Regions from separate parts of the Homo sapiens genome. Here region 1 is linked to region 2. Evidence: promoter capture Hi-C in 16 types of primary human blood cells and fetal thymus (Javierre and others, 2016). All regions are on one chromosome and are shown on one strand. Each heading gives the region's core, a stretch centred on a gene start or on the middle of the fragment in contact. The rest is flanking DNA. Distances are from core to core; before and after follow the strand shown.

The links. The method cuts DNA at HindIII sites, captures the fragments that hold promoters and counts their contacts. A CHiCAGO score of 5 or more calls a contact.
Region 1: a contact is called between a fragment that was not itself captured here and the fragment with the promoter of LUARIS in region 2, in 4 of 17 cell types (non-activated CD4 T cells, activated CD4 T cells, total CD8 T cells and 1 more). The highest score is 5.7, in non-activated CD4 T cells.

The regions. Positions count from the first base shown.
Region 1 is chr7:43,713,307-43,718,376 of GRCh38, forward strand. All of the region lies in intron 1 of COA1 (cytochrome c oxidase assembly factor 1), which reads right to left. Among named protein-coding and RNA genes, the nearest start is that of COA1, 14 kb to the right of the region's middle. The HindIII fragment of the contact is 2,789 bases long and covers 2,206-4,994 here.
Region 2 is chr7:43,520,389-43,525,019 of GRCh38, forward strand. LUARIS (lncRNA upregulator of antiviral response interferon signaling) reads right to left here and starts at 2,154. Exons shown (of 3, transcript NR_038276.1): 1 at 1,900-2,154. The region is part of intron 24 of HECW1 (HECT, C2 and WW domain containing E3 ubiquitin protein ligase 1); the gene reads left to right. The HindIII fragment of the contact is 11,394 bases long and covers 2,063-4,631 here.

The DNA.
Region 1 (5,070 bases), core at 2,350-4,849, 190 kb after region 2:
ATCTCACGCACTTATCACTTCCTTCTGGTAAGAACACTCAAAAGCCTCTCTTCTAGCAATTTTGCTACAATACCTTACTATTAACCATAATCACCCTTCTGTGGAATAGAATACCAGAACTTATTCCTCCTAACTATAACTTTGTACTCATTTGAACGACCTCTCCCTACCTACCTTCCCCTCTCCCTGCCCAAGTCTCTGGTAAGTTTTATGGCTAGTCCTTTATAGAGCATCCTGTTTTTATTCATCTTCATCTCATCTCTCTGAATATATCTGTAATTGGGGTAGGAGATTGTTGGTAACTGTTTTTTTCCCCTGCAAAGTCTGTATTTCTTCCAAGTTGCTTTTTTGTTTTGCTTAATTCCCACCACCCACCTTTGATGCTGGATGCTTTCCTCAAATAACTGGTAATCCTTGGGTATTTGCTTATGATTAAGACTGGGGGTCTAGAGCTAGGTGCACTGGCTCAGGCCTGTAATTCCAGCACTTTGGGAGGCCAAGGTGGGCAGATCATTTGACATCAGGAGTTCGAGACCAGCCTGACCAACATGGTGAAAGCCTGTCTCTACTAAAAATACAAAAATTAGCCAGGCATGGTGGCGCACACCCATAATCCCAGCTACTCAAGAGGCTGAGGCAGAATTCCTTGAACCAAAGAGACAAAGGTTGCAGTGAGCCGAGATCACACCACTGCACTCTGTTTAAAAAATATATTAAAACACAGATGGCAGGAAAAAAAAATTAGCCAGGCACGGTGGTATGCACCAATAGTCCCAGCTACTCAGGAGGGAGGATCACTTGAGTCCGGGACTTCCAGGTTGCAATGAGGTAGGATCATGCCACTGCACTCCAGCCTGGGTGACAGAGCAAAACCATGTCTCTAAAAAAATTAAAAATAAAAATAAATAGTGAATCATCTTTTTGTAATAGAGTTATACTAAAACTTTAAAAGATTTTCTGTTTAAAAAATAAAGATACAATTATAAACCTATGGCTTATTACTAGTATGAACCAATACAGTATAAAAATTATATATTGAGGCTGGGTGTGGTGGCTCATACCTGTAATCCCAGCACTTTGGGAGGCCGAGGAGGGTGGATTGCCTGAGGTCAGGAGTTCAACGCTAGCCTGGCCAACATGGTGAAACCCCATCTCTACTAAGAAATACAAAAATTAGCCGGGTATGGTGGTGCAAGCCTGTAATCCCAGCTACTCGGGAGGCTGAGGCAGGAGAATTGCTTGAACCCGGGAGGCAGAGGTTGCAGTGAGCTGAGATAGTGCCATTGCACTCCAGCCTGGGCTACAAGAGCGAAACTCCATCTCAAAAAAAAAAAAAATTATATATTGAGAAAATGTATAAAAATGATTTGTATCTGACACAGACACGGGATACTAGAAGAAATTAAAAAAGAAACAATAGGGTGGGCACAGTGGCTCACATCTGTAATCCCAGCACTTTGGGAAACCAATGCAGATGGATCACTTGCAGCCAGGAGTTCGAGACCAGCCTGGCCAACATGGTGAAATCTCGTCTACTAAAACTACAAAAAATTTAGCTGGACATGGTGGTGCACACCTATAATCCCAGCTACTCAGGTGGCTGAGGCACAAGATCACTTGAGCCCGGGAGGTAGCAGTTGCAGTAAGCCAAGACTGCACCACTGCACTCCAGCCTGGGCAAAAGAGTGAGCCTCTTGTCTAAAAAAAAAAAAAAAAAAAAAAAAAAGGAAACATTTAATACAAAAATAAATGCCAAATAAAAATCATTCTAAAAACTGAAAGATAATACTGTATTTAGAAGTTATCATTCTTAATATGAAAGCTTGAAACACACCAAGTATTACTTGCCTTTTCCAATAGTCTTGAACTTTGTTTCATAATATTCCTGATACAGGAAAAAATTCATACATTTAACATTGACATTGATCAAATTAATCTGAGTGCATCAAACAGCATCTTTAAATTGAATGTTAAGGGTATGTTGCTTGGTGAAACTCCGTCTCTACTAAAAATACAAAAAAAAATGCCAGGCGTGGTGGCAAGCACCTGTAGTCCCAGCTACTCGGAAGGCTGAGGCAGGAGAATGGCGTGAACCCGGGAGGCAGACGTTGCAGTGAGCGGAGATCGTGCCACTGCACTCCAGCCTGGGCAACAGAGCAAGACTCTATCTCAAAAAAAAAAAAAAAGAGTATGTTGCTTCATATAAGCTTGTTTACCTTCTTAATGATTAACTATTTTGGCTGCCTCCTCTCATTTTTGTTTTGCCTTTGAATATTGCTTTCACTAATTTTAGATCAAGTTCTCATTTCATGTTGAAGTATCCCACAAAAACACTATATCTTTTTCTCTTGTAATTCCTCTCCTAAAGTATTTACAAAGGATGACAGTCTATAGTGAATATTTAAACTCAAAAACACCAACAAACACGGGTAGTATTTAGAGACACAATATAGCAAGAATAACACTACCTGATATGACTTGGCTCTGTGTCCCCACTCAAATCTCATCCTGAATCGTACTCCCATAATTCCCACGTGTTGTGGGAGGGACCCAGTGGGAGATAATCGAATCATGGGGGCAGTTTTCCGATAGTGAATAGCCTCAAGAGATCTGATGGTTTTATCAGGGGTTTCCGCTTTTGCATCCTCCTCATTCTCTCTTTGCCTGCTGCCATCCATGTAAGATAGGACTTGCTCCTCCTTGCCTTCTGCCATGATTGTGAGGCTTCCCCAGCCACATGGAACTGTAAGTCCAATTAAACCTCTTTCTTTTGTAAATTGCCCAGTCTCAGGTATGTCTTTATCAACAGCATGAAAACGGACTAATAAAGTAAATTGGTACCAGCAGTGGGGTGTTGTTGAAGATACCCAAAAATGTGGAAGTGACTTTGGAAGTGAGTAACAAGCAGAGGTTGGAACAGTTTGGAGGGCTCAAAAGAAGACACGAAAATGTGGGAAGGTTTGGAACTTCCTAGAGACTTGTTGAATGGATTTGACAAAAATGCTGATAGTGATATGAAGAGTAAGGTTCCAAGCTGAGGTGGTCTCAGATGGAGATGAGGAACTTGTTGGGAACTGGAGCAAAGGTGACTCCTGTTATGTTTTAGCAAGAGACTGGCAGCATTTTGCCCCACCCTAGAGATTTGTGGAACTTAGAACTTGAGAGAGATGATTTTTAGGGTATCTAGCAGAAGAAATTTCTAAGCAGCAAAGCATTCAAAAGGTAACTTGGGTGCTGTTAAAAGCATTCCATTTTAAAAGGGAAACAGGGCATAAAAGTTCAGAAAATTTACAGCCTGACAATGTGATAGGAAAGAAAAGCCCATTTTATGAGGAGAAATTCAAGCTGGCTGCAGAAATTTGCAAAAGTAGCAGGGAGCCCAATGTTAATCACCAAGACCATGGGGAAAATGTATCCAGGCCATGTCAGAGACTTTCACGGCAGCCCCTCCCATCACAGGACGAGAGGCCCAGGAGGAAAAAGTGGTTTTGTGGTCCAGGCCCAAGGTCCCCATGCTGTGTGCAGCCTAGGAACTTGGTGCCCTGTGTCCCAGCTACTCCAGCTGTGGCTGAAAGGGGCCAATGCAGAGCTTGGGTTGTGGCTTCAGAGAGTGGAAGCCTCAACCTTGGCAGCTTCCACATGGTGGTGAGTCTACAGGCACACAGAAGCTAAGAACTGAGGTTTGGGAACCTCCACCTAGATTTCAGAAGATGTATGGAAATGTATGGAAGCCCAGGCAAAAGTCTGCTGCGGGGTGGGGCCCTCATGGAGAACCTCTGCTAGGGCAGTGCAGAAGGAAAATGTGGGGTTGGAGCCCCCACACAGAGTCCCTACTGGGGCACTACCTAGTGAAGCTGTGAGAAGAGGGCCACCATCCTCCAGACCCCAGAATGGTAGATCCACTGACAGCTTGCACCATCCACCTGGAAAAGTCACAGACACTCAATGCCAGCCTATGAAAGCAGCCTGGAGGGAGGCTATGCCCTGCAAAGCCACAGGGGTGGAGCTACCCAAGACCATAGGCAGCTCCAACAGCATGACCCAGATGTGAGACCTGGAGTCAAAGGAGATCATTTTGGAGCTTTAAAATTTGACTGCCCCGCTGGATTTCAGACTTGCATGGGCCCTGAAACCCCTTTGTTTTGGCCAATTTCTCCTATTTGGAATGACTATATTTACCCAATACCTGTAAACCCATTCTATCTAGGGAGTAATTAGGTTGCATTTGATTTTACGGGCTTATAGGCAGAAGGGACTTGCCTTGTCTCAGATGAAACTTTGAACTGTGAACTTTTGGGTTAATGCTGAAATGAGTTAAGATTTTGGGGGACTGTCGGGAAGGCATGATTGGTTTTGAAATGTGAGGACATGAGATTTGGCAGGGGCCGGGGGGGGAACAATATGGTTTGGCTCTATGTCCCTATTCAAATCTCATCTTGAATTGTACTCCTATAATTCCCATGTGTTGTGGGAGGGACCCAATGGGAGATAACTGAATCATGGGGGCGGTTTCCCCCATACTTTTCTTGTGGTAGTGAATAAGTCTCACAAGATCTGATGGTTTTATCAAGGGTTTCCACTTTGCATCTTTCTCATTCTCTCTTTGCCTGCTGCCATCTATGTAAGACAGGACTTGCTCCTCTTTGCCTTCCACCATGACTGTGAGGATTCCCCAGCCACATGAGACAGTAAGTCCAGTTAAACCTCTTTCTTTTGTAAATTGCCCAGTCTCAGGTATGTCTTTATCAGCAGTGTGAAAACGGACTAATATACTACCATACAGAATAATATATTGTACTGCCAACTTTAGGACTTATTTTGCTTTCAAATTTTTTATTTCTTGAAACACCACTAATAGCGTTTATATGAAGTGGACTATGCATACAAATGTATTATTATTTATTTGTAAGAATAACTGTTAGCAGCAGATAGAGTATAAAAACACATTTATTTATAAGATGGCAACAGCTATGAGACTGGCTGTCTAGATCACAAGCTTATCTCCTAGATGCTCTTGTCTCAGCTCCCAGAGATGTACAACTTAAGGTTTTAGTCGGTGTCAGCATGTCC
Region 2 (4,631 bases), core at 904-3,403:
ACACCATCTGCCTCTCCCGGGCAGCTCCTCCTCTGCCCTCCCCACGCTTCCTTAGGCTTTGCTCTGCTGCCCATATGTGCGCGATTGTTTCTTCTGTTCTTCTTCTCTCATTTACATGGGCGCAAATTTCCTACCCTGAAAATCCACTTAAAATACTGTGTAGTTCATTCATGATTTCTTCATGATTTCCTGCACCTTCTCAAGACAAATATGTTCATCTTCTCTTGAATTATTTTTTTATTATTATTATTCTACTTTAAGGTTTTTTTTAAAAAAAACACAAAGGTTTCCAAACCCTTTTAGCTGGAACCTTGTTCTCCAATCTAGAACAGACGAAAGTGAAGCCTTGCCTCTGGCAAGGAGGGGTGCCTGGTTCACTGAGCCCCTCAGGCTCTTCCTCCTCCCCATCTCTATGCTTCTGTGCAAAATAGCTTGAGAAAGCACTGCTCTAATCTACTGTCTGCGTCTCTCCTTCCATCCCTCCCTGGCCACTTTGTGTTAGCTTTTAAACTGGATCAGGGCAACATCTTATTGTTCAGGTTTGCCCTCTGCAGCCAGCGTGGTTTCTGGCATGGAGGCAGCACCCTTCAGGTCCTGAGGCAGGTGCCACACAGCAAAAGGCAAACCCAGGTTTCATGCCTGCTCCAACTCTCAGTAGAACCTGGGCAGCTTTCTTAACCTATCTGAGTCTCAGCCTCCTAGTTCACCAAAAGGACATAAGAGTGCCTGATGTGGTTTGACGGATGCGTCTCTCAGAATTCATATGTTGAAACTTAATCACCAACGTGATGATATTAAGAGGTGGGGCCTTTAAGAAGTGATTAAACGATGAGGGCAGAGTCATGAATGGGAGTAAGGCCCTTATAAAAGGCCTTGAGAGAGTGAGTTTGCCCACTAGGTACAGTAGCACCACCACGATCACCCCCAGCTGTCACAACCAAAAATGTTTCCAGACATTGCCACAATTCTCCTAGGAGGCAAAATCACTCTGTTGAGAATCACTGTTTTCATGATGGAAGACTGGAAAAAGAAAAGGTTAAGCAAAATTTTTGCAGGATTAAAAGTATTTCTGTAGGCCTAGAGTTTTAGGAAAACATTTTCAGCCTTGGAATACGTCATGGCTGCGGGTTGAATATATGTGTTTTTCCAAAATTCATAGGTTGAAACTTAACCCCCAAGGTGATGGTATTAAGAAGTCAGACCTTGGCTGGGCAAGGAAAGTCATGCCTGTAATCCCAGCACTTTGGGAGGCCAAGGCGGGTGGATCACCTGAAGTCAGGAGTTCAAGACCAGTCTGACAACATGGTGAAACCCCATCTCTACTAAAAATACAAAAATTAGCCAGGCGTGGTGGCACATGTCTGTAATCCCAGCTACTCAGGAAGGCTAAGGCAGGAGAATCGCTTGAACCTGGGAGGCAGAGGTTGCAGTGAGCCTAATTGCATTGCACTCCAGCCTGAGCAACAAAAGCAAAACTCCATCTCAAAAATAAACAACAACAGAAAAAGAAGTGAGGCGTTTGGGAAAGTGATTAAGTCATGAGGGCTCCACCTTTGTGAATGGGATCAGTCCCCCTATAAAAGAGGTTGAAGGGAGTGGCCTAGTCCCTTTTGCTCTTCCCATTCTGCCATTTGAGGATACCGCAAGGTGTCCATCTTAGAAGCAGAGAACAAGGCCTTACCAGACCCTGAATCTTTTGGCACCTTGATCTTGGATTTCTCAGCCTTCAGAGCTGTGAGAAATAAATTTCTATTATTTATAAATTACTCAAGCCATGGTATTTTGTTATAGCCACAGGAATGAACTAAGACACTCACATATTAGACTTCTCTGATTATTGGACCAGCATAACTGAACCACACACTTTAGTTTTCAAATGTTGGCAACTGAAGAACTTACTTTAAGTAATGACCTTCAAGTAATGACCAGGTGAGTCTCGGTGCAGTTAGTCCACTGAGTTCATGTCCTGATTCCCTGCTAGTCCATCCAGAAGAGAATCTCCCAGATGCTGTTATCATTTGCTTCCCAAGACAGTTGCCTCCTGGACTGAGTCAGAGGGAAAAGCTTAGATAGAAGCCACACCTCTGTCTCCAGCCATAAGCGGGCTGCTGGAAGGATTCCCACAGAGTTGCCATGGGCTCTTCATGAAGGCTGGAGGTTAGCTATGGCCCTGGCGTGCTCTCACCTGCCCCACAACAGCCACCTCACCCTCCAAGCAGGCCTGCAGCTGCGCAGGAGTTCTAGACACCATGCCTCAGTCCTCCCACAGGCCAAGAGGGAAAAATTACAAAGCAAACCACTGGTGGGGATGCCAGGGCCTACACCAAACCCCCTATTAGCTGTGGAGACAGGAGACTAGCCTGTGGCCAAACCCTGAACTCAGCCCACAAGAATGTGCACGGAGCACAGGGAATGACAGCAATGCTGGCCTTGGTATAAAAGCCAGGAGCAGGGAAATTTGATTGTGCCAGGAGGACAGGGAGCTGCAGAGAATCAAAACTCTGCTTCCCTAATATTTATTCCAAAAACAGCTCCGTGGTGGGGATGTTATTGCTGGCACTTCCGCCTACTCTTTGTACTGTGTGTTCTCTTTCCAAAGGTAGTTCTGCTTGTTTGTTTGTTTGTTTGTTTTGAGATGGAATTTCGCTCTTGTCCCCCAGGCTAGAGTGCAATGGTGCGATCTTGGCTCACTGCAACCTCCTCCTCCCAGGTTCAAGCAATTCTCCTGCCTCAGCCTCTCAAGTAGCTGGGATTACAGGTGTGTGCCACCAGGCCCGGCTAATTTTTGTGTTTTTAGTACATAAGGGGTTTCTCCATGTTGGCCGGGGGGGGTCTCGAACTCCTGACCTCAGTTGATTCACCTGCCTCGGCCTCCCAAAGTGCTGGGATTATAGTCATGAGCCGCCATGCCTGGCCTTGCTCGTATTTTTAAACACCAGCATCAAACAGCCCTGAAAACTGCTCTTTCTAGGAGCTTGGCTTTGTGGGGCCGCTAGAAGGATGCAAGGCCTTTGAGGAGACAATGTCAGAAGAGAGAGAAATCTTGAATTATAAGAGAGAGCAAAAAGTGGATGGAAGAAGAGCCCAGAGGAGGCAGGGAAAGACAATAGATAGCCCAAGTGAAGACATTAGCTTTGAAAGAGAGTCAGCCCCAGCAGGAGAATTGCTTGAACCCGGGAGGTGGAGGTTGCAGTGAGCAGAGATCTCGCCATTGCACTCCAGCCTGAGCAACAAGAGGGAAACGCCATCTCGAAAAAAAGAAAAGAGTCAGCCCCTTTTTCCTTGAGATCGAGGGAAATAAATGGCAAGTGTAGATTGCAGATGTACTTACTAATGAGAGAGGCGCCGAAAGCAAGAACCAGAGGGAGGGAGAGGCTGGTGATATGAGGGGGATTAGATAAAAAGAAGACCCCCCCAATTAGTGGGGTGTAAGGAGGCAAGGATGCATGTGCCTGCAGGCGGTGGTGTGAGAGGAGGCCAAGTGGAGCCATTCATACTCTCAGCTTCTAGAAAAGCCTCTGTCCTCCATCCCTTCTTCCAGTATCCATGAGGAAATGCAATGAGTGATGCCTAAGGCAAAAAACTTCACTTTTGACCTTCAGACTATGTTTTTCATCTTAAAAAAAAAGATGAGGGACTTGGAATGGGTGGTTCTCAAATTTTAGTCGGCAACTGCAGAATTTATTTTAAATGCAGATTTCCATAACCCACCCCATAGAGTCTGATCTCCAGGTACCTAGATCTTAACAAACACCCCAGGGATTCAGATACCAATGGAAGGGTCACCACCACCTTTGAGAAATTTTGCCTTAGATGTTAGCAGCGTCAAGAGTCTTTCAAAGAGTGTGAGAAAAAAAGCTGGCTGTTCATGCAGTTTTCACACTCTGAAATGAAATCTACCCCAGGCAGACACAACAGGTTTTCACTAGATTTTCTAATATATAAGAAGTTAGAAAATATGAGAAGACCAAACCTGAAGGCAGTAACACTGAGTAAAGCATGGAAACATACATTGTGTGGGAACGTCATGAAGTCTTATTACTTAAATAATGAGGTTGAGAAAGGATAATTATTTTTAATTAAACAAAGTTAGAAGGATAAGGAAAGAGGGGTATCTTTGAGATGGGTTTTTAAAAATGTAATAGAACTTAGCAATTATGAAGTACTTTTCATCTTCAAAGAACCTATTAACATTAAATTACTCTTTCTTTTCATTCTCCTGTGAGGTAAGTAAGCAAATACTAACATTATTATCCCTTATTTGTAGATGGGAAGAGAGGAGTGGAGAGGCTTTGACATGCCCATGCAGAGCTAAAATTGAAAGAATTCTTTTTTCACAAGTTCCTACTAGAGACTGTGGAGACCCAGGTTTGGGGCTATTGTTTCACCTCTAGCTCTCCCGTGTGCTTGTAATATTTGGAAAAGAAGTTACTGCAAAATTATGTAAGCAAGCATTAGTGGGAGGTGGAAGGAGCTCCTGTGTCCTGTAGAGGGGCATGAAATGCTATTTACAAGTCTCCAAATTTCCCTGGTATATCAGGATTTAAACTGAGGAGGTTTTCACGAGAATCAGCGTTAATTAACTTGAGCAGACTCTTTACATTATCTTATTTCAGCATCCTAATATAAAA